2 separate regions of the Homo sapiens genome follow, and region 2 is linked to region 1. Evidence: promoter capture Hi-C in 16 types of primary human blood cells and fetal thymus (Javierre and others, 2016). All regions are on one chromosome and are shown on one strand. Each heading gives the region's core, a stretch centred on a gene start or on the middle of the fragment in contact. The rest is flanking DNA. Distances are from core to core; before and after follow the strand shown. Region 1 holds the start of BMP6 (bone morphogenetic protein 6). Region 2 overlaps SNRNP48 (small nuclear ribonucleoprotein U11/U12 subunit 48).

The links. Contacts are between HindIII fragments. The CHiCAGO score rates a contact against its expected background, and 5 or more counts as called.
Region 2: a contact is called between a fragment that was not itself captured here and the fragment with the promoter of BMP6 in region 1, in 1 of 17 cell types (neutrophils). The highest score is 6.1, in neutrophils.

What each region holds. Positions count from the first base shown.
Region 1 is chr6:7,724,782-7,727,593 of GRCh38, reverse strand. BMP6 (bone morphogenetic protein 6) reads right to left here and starts at 1,495. Exons shown (of 7, transcript NM_001718.6): 1 at 1-1,495. The coding sequence starts at 638. The HindIII fragment of the contact is 3,909 bases long and covers 1-1,770 here.
Region 2 is chr6:7,593,840-7,596,547 of GRCh38, reverse strand. SNRNP48 (small nuclear ribonucleoprotein U11/U12 subunit 48) reads right to left here. Exons shown (of 9, transcript NM_152551.4): 2 at 2,701-2,708; 3 at 2,389-2,449; 4 at 1,447-1,521. Among named protein-coding and RNA genes, the nearest start is that of SNRNP48, 5.0 kb to the right of the region's middle. The HindIII fragment of the contact is 1,555 bases long and covers 617-2,171 here.

The DNA of each region.
Region 1 (2,812 bases), core at 246-2,745:
TCCGCGTCGTTGAGGAAGGCGCTGTCCTGCGCGCTGGTCAGTGGGGACGCGCCGCCGCTGCCAGATCCGGGGGCCAGAAGGCTCTTGCGGTTGAGCGGGTGCGCGGCGCCCGGGGGCGGCTGCCGACGCTGGGACGAGCTGGCTGCTTCGTGGGGCCAGGACTGCTGCCTCTCCCCCTCCGACGCCCCGTCCTCGTCGTTGTCGGCGGACAGGGCGTTGTACAGATCCAGCATGAAGAGGGGCGCGGACTTCAGTCGCCCGGGAGGGGGCTCTCCGCGAGGCAGCTGCTGCTGCTGCTGCTGCTCCTCCTGCTGCCGGAGCGCCGGGGGCTGCGGCTGTTGGAGGCCGTGCAGGGGCCGGGGCCGGTGCGGGAGCCCCAGCACCGACAAGATCTCCTTCTGCATCTCCCGCTTCTCCTGCGTCTTGAGCCGCCGGTACAGGAAGCCCGAGGAGGACTGCGGCGACGGCGGCGGCTGCTCCGTGCGGCCGGGGCTCCCGCCGTCCCCCAGCAGCTGCCCCCCGGCGGCGGCGGCCGCGGCAGCGGGCAAGGGCGGCCGCAGCGGCGGGGGCCCGCAGCAGCTGCACAGCAGCCCCCACCACCAGCACAGCCACTGCGCCCTCCGCCCCAGCCCCGGCATCCCCGCCCGGCCGGGCTGCCCCCGCGGATCCCGCGAGGCGTGGAGCGGCGGAGCGAGGCCGGAGCGCGGCCGCTGTGGCCCTTGGCGTGAGCAGTCCCCGCCACCTCTCGGCGGGCTCGCTTCCCCTTCCTGGCCCTCAGTCCTTATCTCTCATGGTCGTCCGGGGCGCCCCCAGTTGCCCAGGCTAGAGAGGTGGCGAAGGGGCGATCACCAGGAGAACCGCTTGGAGGGGAGGAAGGGGAGCCTCACAGCCTCGCGCAGGTCTCTAGAGGCGCGCGGTCCAGGCCAGGTGCGTCTGAGTCCGGGCTGCACTGCAGCCTGCGCCCTGGCTCCTGCGAGTCGCGGCGCGGTCACTCTGGGCCTCGCTGGCCGCACACGTGCGCTGCCCCGCGCTCTCCCTGGCGACTGAGTGGGACCCGGGGCAGCGGGGAGCGGGGCCGCTCACGAGCTGCGGGAGATGCCCGGCATCACCGTGGCGCACGCCCCTCCCCAGATCGCAGGGCCACCATGAAGTTTACCCCGTTGCAGGGCCCAGGCTGCGGCGACAAGGCGTCCCGAAATGCCAGTCTATTCCGCGAGGTTTAACTTCCTTCTCGCTCACGAACTCCGCGCCCCTGAGCTCTCGGGCACCGTCGCTCCCACTCAAAATCTCCGCGCGCCGCACGCCTCCTCAAGCGGAGGCGGCGAGGATCTTGCTTTCCGTTCGGCGGTCGCCCGGCTGCCCAGCAAACCCGCTCGCAGAAAGGATGGGAAGGAAGGGGGCTAGTGCACCGAGCAGCGGCCGCGGCGGCGGCGCCGGAATTCGGTCTCCCGCCTCTCCACGCCGCGCTCCCCGCAGCGGCCAACGTGGGCTTTCTGCTGCGCGCCCGGCTCAGGTACCTCACTCCAGCCCCGGGACTCCCCGCCCCGCGGTAACCGACAGGCTGGCAGCCAATGGGGACGCGAAGCTCGCGGGCTATTTAAATAGCCCCGCCCCTTCTTTCACCCTCCCTCTCCCGAGAGGCGTCGCCTCCGCCGCGCGTAGGTTTCAAGACCCGGGAATTCTTGGAGGCATGCGAAGAGCCGCGAGGTGCCAAAGGCGAAGAGGTCATCGCTAGTAAGAATGATCTGACCAATACCCCGATCTGAAGCTTTCTCTTTTACCATCATTTAAAAGGCCTAAGTTGATGCTTTAACTAAATAAAAATAATAACAGCGATTAAATCACTATACTGCCAGAACTGAGGAAGAAAAGAAAAATGATAGCTTTTCCATCCCTTCCTTAGTTTCTCTTATTGATGTAATGTAGGCGTTTAGCGGACACGTGGCTTTCCACGGCAGCTGCTGGAAGTTGGGACACACCCTCCGGGGAGGCTACTCACAAACTGACCACAGAGAGGGCCACATGTAACCCAAGCCAGCGTCCTGAGGGTTTGGGGTCGGATGTGTTGACTTCTCTGTTCATTTGTGCTTTGGTTTGGCTTCTTAAGCTAGCACCCAAAAGAAAGAGGGTGTAATCAGACGATATATTAGAAAAGGCGTCCCCTGTCTTCTTGGAAATGTCTTGATTCTCCAGCTTATCTATTAATGTTGCATTTTAATATTGAAATACAATGTGACTTATATGGTGCAAGATAAAACTTGAGGAGAGGTGATAAAGATAACTCCAGGAAGAGCAGGGGCTTGGCATGCATTCTGAATGGTCAGGACAATAGACAGGGTCCTGAAACACAGGTTCCTGTGGATTTTAGACAAGATAACACCACCACCAACACCATTTGCCAATGAGGACACAAATTCATTTGCCTTTACCCCGCCCGAGAACATCCAGTCATCTATGGATCGTAGAAGCAAATTCACGTAAAACATGAAGGTTTTTTACTTGGTGAAAATTGTGTGGAGTTGAAAATAAAAACTGCAATTTTCTGACTTGCCAGCCTTAGTCCAAATGGTCCTAGGCATTTGAGAGTGAAGTCAAATAGATTATAGACTGTGGGATTCATGAATTTATGAGATCATAGGCTTTCTGTTGGTCCAAATCTTATAAGCATTCCTATCCTATTTCCAAGAATCTATTTCTCATGGGTAAATAGAGACCACCACTGACTCCAACTACCCACTGAGTCCTTCTTTCTAGTTCTGCCTTGGCCCAGACACAAGTGGTCATTTAGAAGAGTCTTTATTTCTACAAATAT
Region 2 (2,708 bases), core at 145-2,644, 130 kb after region 1:
AGTCCAGATACTGGCTTAGAACAGTATTTGGTAAAGATCCTCAATTTCAATGAGGGAGAAAACCAACCATGACTACAGCCTGGTAAATATAATTCAGCTAGAAAAAAGAATGAGGAAAAAAAGGTAAGTTGTCCAGAGAAAGCTACCTACAGAAGGTTCAAAGAAGACAATGCAGAAATCCTTACAAGAGAAGCTGTTCAGGTTTTGGCTAGATGTCATATCTACATTCATTAGAAATTTAAACTTTTATTAACTCGTTTGTCTATGTGTGTTTTTTTTTTTGAGATGGAGTCTCGCTCTGTTGCCCAGGCTGGAGTGCAATGGTGCAATCTTGGCTCAATGAAACCTCCGCCTCCTGGGTTCAAGCAATTCTTCCTGCCTCGGTCTCCTGAGTAGCTGGGATTACAGGTGCTTGCCACCATGCCCGGCTAATTTTTGCATTTTTTAGTAAAGACAGGGTTTCGCCATGTTGGCCAGGGTGGTCTTGAACTTCTGACCTCAGATGATCCACCTGCCTCGGCCTCCCAAAGTGCTGGGATGACAGGCATGAGCCACCGTGTCTGGCCTATGTCTATGTTTTTGATGGATGAAGTTTTCTTTCAATTTCCTAAAAGCTTATGCTTAAAACTTCTAACCTACTCTCTGCTGAGGTTCCCAGGGAGAAACTCTTTAACCCAGCTCTAAAGCTGGGCATGAAAGGATCTATTAATATGAATCCTCTGAAATTATATGTAAAACTTTTGTGTTTGTACTTTTTTTCTGAGAAGGGGATCCCAAGCATTCATCACCTCAAACCAACTCACTTACTGGGTAGCAAGCAATCTGAGGGTAGCTGTGGAGACTAATCTCTTTTAGCCTAAGCCTTTTCTTTACACTGCATTTCAACACTCTAAAGAGAGGAAATCTCAAGAGTAAAAGAGCCTCACTCAGTGGCATTTATAGATGTTCCTTGACTTACATGGGGTTACATCCCGATAAACCCATCATAAACTGAAAATACCGTTAAGTTGAAAATGCAGCCCAGCGTCTGATAAAAGAATCACTAGTACTTAAAGTCTAAAACCTTGTGATTGTGTATTGTTTTCACAACACCATAAAATTGAAAAAATCCTAAATTAAATCATCATTAAGTTGGGACCATCTGTATTTACTAAATAATAATTTTTTTAATTAGCCACAAGACAATCTCACCTATAAATCGCCAGGTAATTCCAAAGGATGAACCCCTAGCTAAGATAGTGTCTTAGTGAGACTCTGGTGTATCTCAACAGGAAATATCTAACAAATGAAGTTGAAACGAAGCAAATTAGCCCAATGTTAAATGTAAAACTTTACCTTTCCCATGTAACAGTTTTCACAGGTTTTTCTTGAAGAAAATTAGTAACATGCTTATGAGAAAAATAATAATTTCATTCTTTAATTCACTTAAACTGTAATGCCACTTACTTTGATTATAACAATCACTGTCTTTCCCAACTGCAGTTCTAGCTTGTTTAATTATCTGGAATTGTGAGTCCTTATCTGTCAAAAAAAAAAAAATCCATAAATACAATATGAATCATCAGTGACCACAATTAAATTATTAACTGGTTTCTGATCCAAGCCCTTTGGGCACGTGGACAAACCTTCCAGAATCTTAAGAAACATCCACATCCCTGTCTATGAAATCTGAACACAGAATCCTTTCAGATTTATCTACAGCCCAGTAAGTAATCAGACTTCAAGCAGTTCATGCCTATAATTAGGCACGCAGCAGTAGCAGCGACAAATTTTACTGACCAATAATAGCTAACATTCTTGAAGCCTGTGCTGTAATGGTCACAACTCTGTGACCCTCTAGCTGACTCCAGCTAAGTGCCTGACACTATTCTAAGAATATTATATATATATATCACTTAATCTTCGCAAAGTGCTATTATAACCATCTCCATTTTATAAAGAAATTTAGGCAACAAACAGGTTAATTACCTCGCTGAAAGTCACATCTTTCATGATAAAAACAGGAGTTGAATCAGGACATTCTTTTTCCAGAGCCCAAGACTTTAACCTCTATATATGCTGTCAATCCCTGGAACACATGTCCATCTTCAGTCTCATCCTTCAATCTGTGTCACATGCTCAAATTTTTGTTGTAACTGAGAAAGAAGGTGTCTGCTCTACTATACAAAGCTTTGTAAGGTTTTCACTGCCTATTAATACAAGCCTGGTCTCTAAACTTCAGATTATGTGAATTAGTTGCCTTGTACATTAATTAATTCTACATTCTCTTAAGGTACTAAATGTCCTTGTCATAAGCATGCTTATACAATCCATTCTTTTCATAATGCAAAAATGAAAAATCAATATCTACACTAAGATATTTTTAAATTATAATAACTTAATACTTACTCAAAGTAATCGAAGGTATCTTCACATTTTCATAGAAAAACTCAGGATTATACATTTCATCCTGAAAAAAAAGAATCTTACTGTTCTTAAGTATCAGATAATTGACTATTTTAAGACTTGACCTAAACAATAGATTAGTATCACTTAATTATTTCTCACAATAATTTGTGCAATTAGGCAAGTACCAACCAACCCTTCAAGTAAGGGCTATTATTTTGTCAGTGAACCTCACATTGTAACTTCCAAAAATTGTGAATTAATGTGTAAAATGCATGACATATATGTATATATAATATAGTAAATATATGGTACCTCTTCTT